Regions from separate parts of the Homo sapiens genome. Here all the other regions are linked to region 1. Evidence: promoter capture Hi-C in human tissues and cell types (Jung and others, 2019). All regions are on one chromosome and are shown on one strand. Each heading gives the region's core, a stretch centred on a gene start or on the middle of the fragment in contact. The rest is flanking DNA. Distances are from core to core; before and after follow the strand shown. Region 1 holds the start of SIGLEC1 (sialic acid binding Ig like lectin 1). Region 2 overlaps DNAAF9 (dynein axonemal assembly factor 9). Region 3 has its middle 18 kb from the start of LINC01433. Region 4 overlaps DNAAF9 (dynein axonemal assembly factor 9). Region 5 has its middle 5.8 kb from the start of RNF24.

Region 1 (2,700 bases), core at 65-2,564:
TTGAGCCCAGGTGTTTGAGACCAGCCTGGGAACATAGGGAGACTCCGTCTCTACAAAATAACTTAAAAAATTAGCCGTGCATAGTGGCAAGCGCCTGTAATCCCGGCTTCTTAGGAGGCTGAAGCAGGAGGATTGCTTAAGCCTAGAATTTCGAAGCTGCAGTGAGCCAAAGTGAGCCAAGATTGCACCAGGACACCCCAGCCTGGGCGACAGAGCAAGACACTGTCTCAAAAAACAAAAACAAACAAACAAACAAAAACCAAAAAAAGTCTTGTTGCTTGTATCTGGGATTGCTTGGAGCAATTAACATCTGCTTCACATGTCAAGTGCCTGCACAAACTAGGCCCTCAATAAGATGGGCTGCAGTAATGTAACAGTAACTAGCTGTGGTGGGGGCTTTCCTTTCCTGTCCCAAGGTGGGGGTGAAGGTATAGGATAGTGGCCGGGTGCAGCGGCTCACCTCTGTAATCCCAGAACTTTGGGAGGCCGAGGCAGGCAGATTACTTGGGGTCAGGAGTTCAAGACCAACCTGGACAACATGGTGAAACCCCGTCTCTACCAAAAATACAAAAATTAGCCGGATGTGGTGGTGCATGCCTGTAATCCCAGCTACTCGAGAGGCTGAGGCAAGATGATCACTTGAACTCGGGAGGTGGAGGTTGCCGTGAGCTGAGATTGTGCCACCGCACTCCAGCCTGGACGACAGAGTGAGACTCCATCTCAAAAGCAAAAACAAAACAAAAAGAAAAAAACCAACAACAAGAAGCCAAAAACCAAAAAACGTACAGGACAGTGAGAGGGGAAAGAGAAAACCTGAGGAGTGTCCTGGACATTGGGGCCTTATGTCCCCCACAACACGGGACTGCCTCTTGGGGGTTCTTAAGAGTACTCAGTGGTACAGGGAGGCTCCTGAATGGCTTGGAGAATAACTGCCTTGGTCTGGGCATCGTGTAGTGCATCCCCACCCCAGGCTGGGCGCGCCTCCCTCTCAGGTGTCAGGGAGGAGAGCTGTGTGCAGGAAGCCCCCTTCCACCTCCCCCAGCCTCCCTAAGGGGCTCAGAGAGAGTGGGGTGTGGATTTGGCTGGTGAATGGGAGTCCCCCACTCCATTTCTCACTTTGCCTGGGGAGGCTCCAGCGTTGCAGCGGTCCCACTTCTGCTTGCTGGAGTCCCTAAGTCCCTGGCCTTGCCGAGGGCCTTCCCCTATGGAGGTCTTTCCCGTTTTGGCATTGCGCAAGGCCTGCAGCTGCCTCCCTGACCAGCCTCTGGGTTGGACAGTAGAGCTGAGGCTTTGGGAAAGAGGAAGCAGCCCCTGATACGGGATCCTTCTCTCTTGAGCCGGCAGAGCCCTGGGGAGCCAGCTGCACCAGGAGCTCTTGGCCGTCCTTCCTGTTCTCCTCTCCGCAGGTCCAGCACCGCCGCAGCCACTTCCTTCTGTGGAGCAGGTACCCCTGTCCCTGGTCCCTGGGCCCAGAGGGTGAGTGGAGCATTAGGAGCGGGGCTGGGCTGAAACTGGCTGAGCGGGATAGGGGCAGGGGTCGGGGGGGGGCTCCATCTGGGTGCGAGTGGTGGACCCCAAACCAACCCAAGTCCAAGACACTAATCAAAGATGGACTCAACTGAAACCCTTCCACCACCCCCAAATCCTTCCAACCTGCATCCCAATCCCAGTCCCGACCATCACCCTGCTCTGACCCTACCTCAGCCCCAGCCCCAGCCCCTATTCCAACCTTATCTCACCCTCACCTCACTTGCACCCCAACCCTAACCATTTACTCATCTCATCTAATCCCAACCATCCATCATCCCAACCCTAACCACAACTCCGACTCTATCATCCTCATCTCAACCCAGCCTCCACCGTATCTTAACCATCACCTGCACCCAACTCCAACCTTCACCCTTACCCCCACCCATCACTCAACCTCAATGTCCACCCCAATCCCAGCCTTAATTTGCTTCCAGAATTCCAACCTGATCATCACCCTGACCTCAGCCCCAGCCCAGCCCAACGATAATCTCTCCTTACTCTAACCCCAGCACAATTCCACTTCATCCATCACCACTTCGTCCGTCCACAGGAGGGCTTCTGGTGCTGTCCAGCACAGTTTGGAGAGTGAGCACTCCAGCCAGAAGCATTTAGAGCCAGATTAAGGAATGAAGTGTGAAATTTCTACTGCCCATGTCAAAGCCAATAAGCATTAGTTATGGATTCTATGGCTCTGAGAATTAAACATTTGGCCTGTGATTGGGGATTTCCACTATTTTGACCATAATCTGCTCCAGGAATTGCCCATCCGTACCCTGACTCCCTATCTGTGGGCCAGTAACCTCCAGCTGGCCATGTCACCCTGTGTTCTTCCTTCTCTAGCCCAATGGGGAAGTTGGGGAGAAGCCTTGGTGTCAGGAAACAGAAACTGAATCCTACACCCGGGCCTAGCTGTCCATAGGGAAACTGCCTCTGCCCTTTCTTCCCCAGCTAAACTTGGCCTCTGGAATCAGAGGTCAGGGACTTGGGGCCCCAGCCAACCCTCCAAGACCTCCTGAGGCACTTGGTCTCAAACAGGCAGCAAACGTGAGTGCCCACTGTGTACCAGGCCAGCTCAAGCCACCCTGATGCAACACATACCAATAGTAGGAGTGGGGATTTAAAATCCTGTCTTCAGAGCACCCAAGACTTGGAGACCCAAGTATGAACCTC
Region 2 (2,700 bases), core at 102-2,601, 390 kb after region 1:
GCATGCATCTTTTGACAAAAACCTCATGATGCTGTAATGTTAACCATTATTTTTTGTTTTTAAAGTAGGCTATTGTCCCAGATATATGCTGCTGTTATTGAGGCTGTTTTGGCTGGCATTGCATGTTATGCTAAAACTTCCAGTCTAACAAAGGTAATTTAAATACCATGTTTCCCTTTCTGTAATTATTATTTTAATGTAAAACATTCTATCCATGTGTTTCTTCTTTGGACATCTTGTAGTACTCACTTTTGTGCGAGCTTGGGCCTCTTTGACACCAGGCAGAGAGAAGCCCTGAGAGCACTGAGCTTCTGCTGCCTGTGACTGTGCTGCTGTTGTCTTATGGATGACAACTAATCGGTGCTTCTTTGTAGACATCTGGTTGTGTTAAGGAAAAATCATTCTGTAGCACATTGTTTTGTTGAATAGCTTAAACAAAAGTCTTTTAAAAGCTAAAAAAAAAAAACCAAAAAGACAACTTTAGATTATTCTACTGTGAAATCTAATAAAGTTTGGTAAGTTTGATTTCCTATAACTCAGTGTTTAAAAAAAATAGCTAAAGATTAGAAAATCTGACTTGCTTTTCCTAGACAAGCACATGTGTTCCCGTTCTCTGACCATTATCTTCCTTGCTGTTTTGCGGTTAACCTGCCCTGCTGAGTTGGATTCCTATATCTGACCCAGTAAGGAGATGAGAAGAGTCAGCTTGATGCCTCCCAAATGCCAATAGGACCTTTTCTGAAGGAAGCCATTTGACATTGGAAAGGTTGTGTATGATGTAGATATCAGAGAGACTGTAGCTGTAGTCACCAGCTCCTTGCCATCTCCCCTCCTCACTGAACTTGTATCCCTGGTACTGACTCCGGATTTCTCAGCCCTTTAGCCACTACATGCAGAAGGCTTATCCAAAGCAGTGGGGTGTCCTTCAATATCAGTTCTCACATCTTTGTTTTTTAACTGATCTTTTGTAACTCTTGCTATTTGGATATTCTTAGCATCTGGCTAAAACTCTGAGGGCAGAGGTTCCTTCCCAAGAGCCAAGGAAGAGGGGAGGAGAAAGCACTTTTACAGACCTCACATTCCACTGCTGTCATCACAGCTGGTCACTTCTCTGGATCCAGCACGTCAGGTTCCAGTGCACACCTGCCTGAATGCAGTTTTGTCCTGTAAACCTAGCCTGGAGAAAGCAGGCCCTTCTTTCCCTTAACATGATACTTTCACTTTAATCTATTCATGCCTACCAAGTAGTCACATAGATGGGAAGGACACACTGTAGGGCATGGTGTGATCCTGGACAAGTGTTAGGAGGGCCCTTCCATCAGTGATATGTGTACTTTTTCCTGCTGTGAAAGCTAATTGTCGCTGTCTTATTATTTTACAGGCCAAGGAGGTAGCAGAGCAAACTCTGGGATCTGGGTTAGATTCCTTTGAGTTGATTCCGTTTAAGGCAGCCCTGCGGTAAGCAATGGCTGATATTTTTTATAAGGAATTTTTTTTCTTCGTTTTGGAATATTCTTTTTTCCCTTATAATTTAGATTTCATCTCCCCTTTGAGAAATGTTTCAGTAAAATAATGGGATGTGTGAAGGAGAATCATTCATGATTCAGCCTTCACTTAGAAGCCAAAGAGCCAAAGATGCAGGAACTGTTTGAGAAAGTCACACACATGTTCTGAGGTTAGAATGCAGGGCAGATTAACACCAGCATCACAGGAGATTTGACAAGCCTGGGTTCCAAGGCTAGAAAGGCAAAGCTGGGTACCTGAATGGTGAGGTTTCTAGGGGCAGAGGGCCCTGGGCACAGGAAGATAGTCACTGCTTAGAAGAAACTTGCACTGGGCCTCATCTGTCTCTTGAATGACAGAAACCCTGAGCCTGGCCGTGTCCTGGGGTCTGCATCATCTGAGAATCTGGTGATTTTTCCATCACATCTCCCAGCATGTCACGGTGGTTGTTATCCATAGCTAAATCTTCATGAACCCAGTCCACTTAACCACTGTTTCACGTGAGGACCATTATGTGCACTTTTATACAAAGGATACAAAAGACACCAATACTGGGGAATTTATTTAAGAATACTTCTAGGATGTGTCCTGTGATGCCTCAGGTCTATGTCCCACATTTTCTTAAATCTATAGTCCTGTGTAATAAGAGAGAGTATTTGAAAGATTAGTCAATTAATTGGTCTAACAAAAAGAATTCTATTTCTGCAGCCCCAGGAGTGGAAGAAAGAGCCAGAACTCTGTGGTGCAGGGCTTTAGACTTGCTTCAGGTCTTCTTTCCCCTGGGTCTTCTGGATCTTGCTGCCCTGGCCATGAAAGGGAAAGGATAAAGGAAGTTTGTTCCCTTAAGACCTTGTGCTGCCCTGTGCTATCTGTTTCTGGCCAACCTGAATTTGAGAACGCTTCTTCAGTTTGCATCTGTGTGACCTTGGGCAAGATAGGAACTGTCTGTATCTGCTCCTTCAGCTACCCACCTTGTAAAGCAGTTGGGCACATAGATGTTAGCTGCTGTCACAGTGGGGTATTCTCTTACCATCAATATGGCTGGCATAGTCATTCTACTTCTCCTTTACTTGGGCCCTTGCCTAGGCCACTCAGCCTCCCCAGAGCAGGCCCCCTCTCAGTCCCAAGGCCTCCTAGGCCTAGGTGTCTGCCCTAGCTGGAGAAAGGCACAAGAAGAAAACACCAGTCAATGGGAGA
Region 3 (2,700 bases), core at 14-2,513, 500 kb before region 1:
GGAGCCCTCAGGACATTTCTTTTTTTTTTTTTTTTTTTTCTGAGACGGAGTTTCGCTCTTGTTACCCAGGCTGGAGTGCAATGGCATGATCTCGCCACAACCTCCGCCTCCTGGGTTCAAGCGATTCCCCTGCCTCAGGCTCCCAGGTAGCTGGGATTACAAGTGCCTGCCACCACGCTCAGCTAATTTTTTTGTATTTTTAGTAGAAACGGGGTTTCTACATGTTGGTCAGGCTGGTCTCAAACTCCCAAACTCAGGTGATCCACCTGCCTAGGCCTCCCAAAGTACTGGGATTACAGGCGTGAGGCACTGCACCCAGCCAATTTTTTTTTAATCAAACACAGACACGACCAACTCAACTTGGTATTGAAGTCCTTTATAAGACCTCTCCCCTTAAAATACCAATGAAGAGCTGAAAAGAGGATAAAAATTCAAAGCAGGTCTTTAAAAATGAGGATATCAGCCAGCCATCTGCAAACAGTTGGGACTCCAGAGTTAACAAAGCTGAATTAAAAGACTCAGAGCTCTTGCCAGAGTGTTACCCTGTGCATCAAAGGCACCCCTGGCCAGAGGTGGGGAAGGAAAAGGCTCAGCCCTCTCCAATGCATATACCCCACCCTTAACTCCAAGAAGAGTCCATCCAATCATCAAACCTCCAGCCACTGTCCTGCTGCCCACACATTGCTTTCTGAGTAGCTGAGGACACAGTCGTGATCCTCCATTCTCCTGATCCCCTTCAGGAACTTTCTTTTTTGTTGTTTATTTGTTTGTGGGAGATAGGGTCTTGCTCTGTTGCCCAAGCTAGAGTGCAGTGGTGTGATCATAGCTCACAGCAGCCTTGAACTCCTGGGCTCAAGCGATTCTCTCACCTCAGGCTCCCCAGTAGCTGGGACTACAGGTGCATGCCACCATGCCCTGCTCATTTTTAAATTTTTGTAGAGACAGGGCCTCACTATGTTTCCCAGGCTGGTCTTGAACTCCTGGCCTCAAGTGATCCTCTCATCTCAGCCTCCCAAGGTGCTGGGATAGCAGGTGTGAGCCACCAAACCCAGCCCCTTTCAGGAACTTTCTACATCCAGTGAACACTTCATGCCCACTGGACTGTACCAGTTTGTGGGTTGGGAATCAGAAGGGATCTTGAGAGCAGGGTAAGACACCACAGTTTTTCAGGTCTTCATCTGATGGAAGAGAAGTAGCCAGCAGCTCTGAATTATTTTTAATTTTTTTATGTATCTATTTTTTTAGAGACAGTGTCTCACTATGTTGCCAGGCTGGACTCCTGGGTTCAAGCCATCCTCTTGCTTCAGCCTCCTGAGTAGCTGGGACTACAGGTGCGTGCTACCGCTCCCAGCTAGCTCTGAATATTTAGAATAAAATTCTTCCTCATCAGCCAAGAATTGGGCAGTGGGAACAGAAGATCTTTCCTCAATCTCATAGATTAGAACTAAAAGAATGCCCACTGGCTTCTATTCCCTACAGCCCCTTGGGCTGGAATCAAGCCATGAAATGCATCCTCCCCAGGGCCCTGAAGCCCTTGACCTATTCCTGCCAGGCCCCTTTGCTGGACCTGAGTCGCAGTAAGGGTAGCTTCCCATTCTGTGGATCCACGGCACATATCATCACCAGTGCCCAGAAAGCTCCCTCTTGGCCTGGATGACTCCCCTAAAGAAAGGTGTATTAGTCAGCTATAGCCACAGTAATGCTACAAAACAAGCCACCCCTTAATTCACAGGTTACAATAGCAAGCATTTATTTTTCTTGCTTAGGTCTCTGTCTGCAGATTCTAGTGTTGGTTCTAGGCTTTTATGGCTCAAATCCATTCCCCTTTTCTCTGTATTCTCCTTGAACCATCCGCTGTCTGGGGCATATTCTTCCCATGATTAATGACAAATACGTGAAGCTTTAGAGCTTCTGTTCCTAACACATCATCTATCCACATTTCACTGGCCAAAGCAAGTCATATGGCCAAGCCCAAAGCCAATGGGGCAGGGAAATATACTCTGCTCCAAGGAGAGGAAAGTGACTGAATATTTGCCAAAAATTTTCCAGTGCATCACAAGAGGACTGGCTCTTCTGGCAAAATTTCCTTCTACCCTTCTCTAGCCACCAACCAGGAGACCCCAGGGTGCAACTCATGACCAGCCCAGGAATATCCTAAGGGACCTGGACTCTACAACTGATGAGTGTTGGCCTCCTTTCAGCCAGCAAGGGTTCCTAAATTAAGGTGGACCACAGGCAGGGACAGTTGATATAATATCTGGGATAACTTCCCCATGTAGATAAGCAAGGTATAACTGGGAGGGCAGGATTCATATTCTGAGGGTGGATACACTTCTGGCAGGCAGTCTGGACATCACATTTCTGAGTCTCTGAATCTCTTTTTTTTTTTTTTTTTTGACATGGAGTCTCGTTCTGTCACCCAGGCTGGAGTGCAGAGGCACGATCTCGGCTCACTGCAACCTCCGCCTCCTGGGTTCAAGCGATTCTCCTGCCTCAGTCTCCCAAGTAGCTGGGACTACAGGTGCACGCCACCACACCCAGCTATTTTGTCGTATTTCTAGTAGTGACGGTGTTTCACCATGTTGGCCAGGCTGGTCTCGAACTCCTGACCTCGTGATCCGCCCGCCTTGGCCTCCCGAAGTGCTGGGATTTCAGGTGTGAGCCACAGCACCCGGCCAAAAAAACAACGGTTTTTTATTA
Region 4 (2,700 bases), core at 32-2,531, 400 kb after region 1:
TTAAGCGATTCCCCTGCCTCAGCCTCCCGAGTAGCTGGGATTACAGACATGCACCACCATGCCCGGCTAATTTTGTGTTTTTAGTAGAGGTAGGGTTTCTCTATGTCGGTCAGGCTGGTCTCAATCTCCCGACTTCAGGTGATCTGCCTGCCACAGCCTCCCAAAGTTCTGGGATTACACGTGAGCCACTGCGCCCAGCCAGGAATTCTTTATAGATTTTGGATACTAATTCTTTGTCAATTCAGTATATTGCAAATATTTTCTTTCACCTGGTGGCTTGTCTTTTTATTTTATTTCTGATGCTTTTTCATGAATAAAAGTTCTTAGTTTTAATGTAATCAGGATAATTAATCATTTCCTATGTGATTCATATATTTTAGATCTATTGAGACTTTTCTGTTGAATTATAAAAATATAATTTTTCAAAGAATCCACCTGGATTGCTCTGTGAAAGTGATATGAGATAGAAGTCTAAGTTCATTTTTTAAATGTAGGTAGCCACCTGTCTCAGCAAAGTTATTGAAAAATCATTGTTTTCCCACTGATCGGCAGTGCCAGCTTTGTTATAAATCAAGTCTCTTTATGTGTGCATCTATTAATAGGCTCTCTGTTCTGTTCCATTGGGAAAGAAAATAACACATTGTCTTATTTTAGATAGATAACATATTTCTATATGGTGACTTAGTCTGCTTGGGATGCCATAACAAAATACCACAGAGTGAGTGGATTAACAGTAGGAATTTATTTCTCACAGTCTGGAGGCTGAGAAAATTATAACACTATACTAAAAGGCATTAAAAATGACATAAACACACATCCCATTCATGGACTGGAAAACTCAGGTTTACTTACTTGACATGGTAAAAATGACAATTCTCTCCAAAGTGATCTTTAAATTTAACATAATTTCAGGAAAAAAAAAACCAACAAGTTTTTTGAAAATCCTGAAAAGCCAACATAAAAATGTCAATAACTTTGAGCAAAGTGCTAAGAACAGCCAAGATACTCCTGAAGAAGAAAAACAAGGTGGGAACTTGCCTTATCACATTAGAGACTGAATGTTTGTGTCCTCTCCAAAATTCCAGTGTTGAAGCCTTAACCCCAAAAGTGATGTTATCTGGAGATGGGGCTTTTGGAAGGAAATAGGGGTTAGATGAGGTCATGAATGTGGGACAAGGTCTGTTGGGATGTGGTGCCCTTATAAGAGCTACCAGAGAGCTTAGCCCCTACCATGTATGCATGGAGGAGGAGTCATGTGGGCATGTGGCACCACACCTGGCTAATTTTTTTTTTTTTTTAGTAGAGATGGAGTTTCACCATGTTGGCTAGGCTGGTCTCAAACTCCAGGCCTCACGTGAAGCTCCCACCTCAGTCTCCCAAAGTGCTGGGATTACAGGCGTGAGCCACTGTACCTGGCTGGAGGGAGCCACCGCACCTGGCTGGAGGGACACTTTAAAAATGAAGGTTTTGGTCTGGCACGGTGGCTCACACCTGTAATCCCAGCACTTTGGAAGGCCGAGGCGGGCAGGTCACCTGAGGTCAGGAGTTCGAGACTAGCCTGGCCAGCGTGGTGAAACCCCATCTCTACTAAAAATACAAAAATTAGCTGGACCGTGGTGGCGCATGCCTGTAATCCCAGCTACTTGGGAGGCTGAGGCACAAGAATCACTTGAACCTGGGAGGCGGAGATTGCAGTGAGCAGAGATGGCACCACTGCACTCCAGCCAAGGCAACAGAGTGAGACTCCATCTCAAAAAAAAAAAAAAAAAAAGTAAAGTTTTGTACAGCACTGAGCATGAAGGAACTGTATAGCTGCATATTACTTGTAACATAGGTCACATTCAGGAACAGAATGTCAGGAGAAGTAAGCAAGTCACAGAAGAATACATGATTAGGATTTCATTTATATAAAAACACAGACAAAACTAAGTAATACACAGTTTACAAATACATTCAAGTGTGGTAAAACCATCCAGAATTCAGGATGCTGTTCCCCCTGGGTGGAAGAGAAGGGCTCTCATTGAGGAAGGACATCCAGGGGGTTTCAACGGTGCTAGTAATGCTCAATTTCTTAGGCCCAGTGGTGAGTTCATAGACATCTGGGTTTTGTAGTTGTTGCTTTAGTTTTTTTTTTTTTTTTTTTTTAAACCTTGTGTGTACATTTCACACACATTTATAGACACAGGATGAAAATCATCTAGCCATTGCATCATAAATTTCCCCAGCAGTGATAAATGTTCCCTCCTCACATAGACTGGGCTGTTGGAAGATTTTTATTTGTACAGCCAGTTTTCTGAAAGAGGAAAGCGAAATTCTTCTTTGGCATTTGCTTGGTATTTTGGTTTACCCTGAGGGCCCATCCCTCTTTTGTTGGACTTCCAGGGATACAGAGCTCAATCAAAGACAACCAAACTGCAGTCCTCCTGGTTTTGGGACAATAATGGGAAACTTCCTCTTATCCTGGGTTTTCAGACTTACAGAATGGAGAAGGAAGGACAGAGTTCATCCACTAAGGACACCAAGGATGGCACAAAGAGTCAGGGAGATCTCCTCAGGAGTTGGCTGCCCTGGCCCCTGTGAACCCCTGCAAAGGTATGGCCCTCAGACCACTGTCTGACAGTCAAGAGTCCAGAGCAGATACCAGAAGGGTTATTGCTTCAAGCAGATGAGGATCTGAGACCAGAGCACAGGCACTGGGCC
Region 5 (2,700 bases), core at 158-2,657, 310 kb before region 1:
TCTTTGGCTTGCCCAGTACCAGAGATATCTAGGACTGCCAATTCCCATTTTTTTTTCTGTTTTTCTTTCTTTCCCCACCCCCCCTTGGATTTTGCCATGAAAATAGGGCTACTCTTAACTTTCCCTGGGTTTCAGCTTTCTTGGGGCTGCTGAGTCGATTACCACTCACCCATCTGTTTTCTATCTTCCAACTTATTTTTCCCCCACTATTGTCTACTCTGTTCTCTCTGTCCTCATGAGTTTGTGTCTTTAAACAAAATCCCTTTATAATAGTTTTAGTGAGTTTTGGGAGGAGCAAAAGTAGATGGGTGGATTCAATGCACCATCTTAACCTGGAAAAAAACTCCAATGGTATTAGGGAGATGTCTCCTCCCTGCATTCCCCTCCTTGTGAGCCCCTTTGGATGACAGACAGGCAAGTGAGAAACTAAGTAATGGAACCAAAGGCCTGGGATGGAAGCCGTGTCTCCCCATGGACAATGCTGTTCCACTACAGAATCCAAGCTTCTTCCCTCAGTCATGGCCTGAGTCAGCCTTTGAGGGAATAAAGGGCTGGAGTCCAGATTATGATGGCGTAGGTTGGAAGGGTAGGAAGCCAAGAAAAACTAAGGAAGCCTGCCTGGAGGAAGCACTGCAGCAGCAGGAAAAGCAGAAGATACAGAGTCTCTTTATCTGCATGGTGTCCTTATCTCCCAAATGAGAGAATTCATCTCTTCCAACTCTGCATCTATGACTCTGTGGGGATAAAAGTCACTCCAGAAAGCCTGTCTGCTTTCTTGCCCTGTTCCTCTTTCCCGTCTGTTGCTTTGGGATGAGGTGATAATGATTGGGAACTATTTGGGTAGATTGGATAGGTTGAAATGGAGGAAAAAGAAAACCAGCATAGTTCCTTTTTCCTAGAATGAGTTATGGGCAAAGATATATCATTCCACTTTATTCCTTTCTCTTTAAAGCTCAGGCCTAACAGAACCTAGCAGAGAGAAAAGGCAGTGATATAATTGGCTGGGGGAAATTGGAGGGGCAGAAGCTGTGATGATGGTGGTAGCCAAATGGTGGTCACAGCTGTGGGGGTTGTGTAATCAATAACTGGAGGAGCTTAGCAGAGCGGCTTGCTTTGTTCCATAGATGTAACTTGAAAGTACCCTCTGGGAGGCTGAGCTGGGCAGATCACTCAAGGCCAGGATTTTGAGACCAGCCTGGCCAACATGGCAAAACCCTGTCTCTACTAAGAATACAAAATTTAGCTGGGCATGGTGGCACACGCCTGTAATCCCAACTATTCAGGAGGCTGAGGCACAAGAATCACTTGAACAACCAGGAGGCAGAGGTTGCAATGAGTCTAGATGGCGCCACTGCACTCCAGCCTGGGTGACAAGAGTGAGACTCTGTCTCAAAAAAAGAAAAGAAAAGAAAAGAGGGCCAGGCGCGGTGGCTCATGCCTGTAATCCCAGCACTTTGGGAGGCCAAGGCAGGTGGATCACGTGAGGTCGGGAGTTCAAGACCAGCCTGACCAACATGGAGAAACCCCGTCTCTACTAAAAAAATACAAAATTAGCCAGGCATGGTGGCGCATGCCTGTAATCCCAGCTACCTGAGAGGCTGAGGCAGGAGAATCTCTTGAACCCGGGAGGCGGAGGTTGCAGTGAGCTGAGATCATGCCACTGCACTCCTGCCTGGGCAACAAGAGCGAAACTCCGTCTCAAAAAAAAAAAGAAAAGAAAAGCAACCAAGACACTGAAGTCAGTGGAGAAATACTCTGGCCTCCTGGTCATCCAGGCAGACAATGCTGAGGGCTGTTCTACAAGGTTTCTCAGTGGACGCCAAGCCAGACTGAGCCTCAGTTGCCCATGGCAGTAACTGGCCCATCAGCATACCTTACTGTTGGCTTCTCTCCCTTTCACAGCTTGCTTTCCCCATTTCTTCACTCTTATTTCCTGGAATCACCTCCCAAGTAAATTACCTACATCCAAGCCCTTGTCTTAAGATCTGTTCTTGGGAGAATCCACGCTGAGATGGGTATCCTCCAATCTAAAAGTGAGTCTGAGCAGGTTGTTCCACCCCTGGGAAATAGTGCTTCCAGTCTCCTGCATGTGTGGCTGGTCTCAGCTAAAAAGCTCCCACATGAGATCTTGAGAACATTTATATTTTCAGGAGTTCTGGGTGATTGGGCTTGTGTGTGCCAGAAAGGCAACGGGGCTTGTTGGTGGCTGGGTAAACAGAATCCCAGGTTCCCACCTCCTTCGCTGGCTTGTGGGTGGACACACAGCCAGTCCTAAAGGTACCATGCACACAGAAACCTACGCTTTCTCCCCAACTCTTGCTGTTTCACAGTCTTGCACACACATTCTGCATTAAGAAGCAATTCCGGTGGCTCATGCCTGTAATTCCAGCACTTTGGGAGGCCGAGGCGGGTGGATCTTGAGGTCAGGAGTTCGAGACCAGCCTGGCCAAGATGGTGAAACCCTGTCTCTTCTAAAAATACAAAAATTAGCTGGGCGCAGTGGCAGGTGCCTGTAATCCCAACTACTCGGGAGGCTGAGGCAGGAGAATCACTTGAACCCAGGAGGCGGAGGTTACAGTGAGCCAAGATTGCACCACTGCACTCTAGCCTGGGCGACAGAGAGACTTCATCTAAAAAAAAAAAAAGAAGAAGCAATTCCACCCCTCCGTGGGCAGCGTCACGCCCCAGCAAGAGGTCCCC

The links. Contacts are between HindIII fragments. The study calls those that stand out against the background at their distance.
Region 2: a fragment that was not itself captured here is called in contact with the fragment with the promoter of SIGLEC1 in region 1 in 1 of the 25 tissues and cell types used here (dorsolateral prefrontal cortex).
Region 3: a fragment that was not itself captured here is called in contact with the fragment with the promoter of SIGLEC1 in region 1 in 1 of the 25 tissues and cell types used here (spleen).
Region 4: a contact is called between a fragment that was not itself captured here and the fragment with the promoter of SIGLEC1 in region 1, in 1 of the 25 tissues and cell types used here (hippocampus).
Region 5: a contact is called between a fragment that was not itself captured here and the fragment with the promoter of SIGLEC1 in region 1, in 1 of the 25 tissues and cell types used here (thymus).

The regions. Positions count from the first base shown.
Region 1 is chr20:3,711,214-3,713,913 of GRCh38, reverse strand. It overlaps SIGLEC1 (sialic acid binding Ig like lectin 1), which reads left to right and starts at 1,314. Exons shown (of 22, transcript NM_023068.4): 1 at 1,314-1,444. The HindIII fragment of the contact is 16,568 bases long and covers 1-2,700 here.
Region 2 is chr20:3,323,650-3,326,349 of GRCh38, reverse strand. It overlaps DNAAF9 (dynein axonemal assembly factor 9), which reads left to right. Exons shown (of 37, transcript NM_001009984.3): 13 at 66-153; 14 at 1,382-1,458. Among named protein-coding and RNA genes, the nearest start is that of DNAAF9, 83 kb to the left of the region's middle. The HindIII fragment of the contact is 9,834 bases long and covers 1-2,700 here.
Region 3 is chr20:4,209,992-4,212,691 of GRCh38, reverse strand. No RefSeq gene overlaps it. Among named protein-coding and RNA genes, the nearest start is that of LINC01433, 18 kb to the right of the region's middle. The HindIII fragment of the contact is 8,948 bases long and covers 1-2,700 here.
Region 4 is chr20:3,307,413-3,310,112 of GRCh38, reverse strand. The region is part of intron 20 of DNAAF9 (dynein axonemal assembly factor 9); the gene reads left to right. Among named protein-coding and RNA genes, the nearest start is that of SLC4A11, 70 kb to the right of the region's middle. The HindIII fragment of the contact is 8,715 bases long and covers 1-2,700 here.
Region 5 is chr20:4,019,972-4,022,671 of GRCh38, reverse strand. No RefSeq gene overlaps it. Among named protein-coding and RNA genes, the nearest start is that of RNF24, 5.8 kb to the right of the region's middle. The HindIII fragment of the contact is 4,326 bases long and covers 1-2,700 here.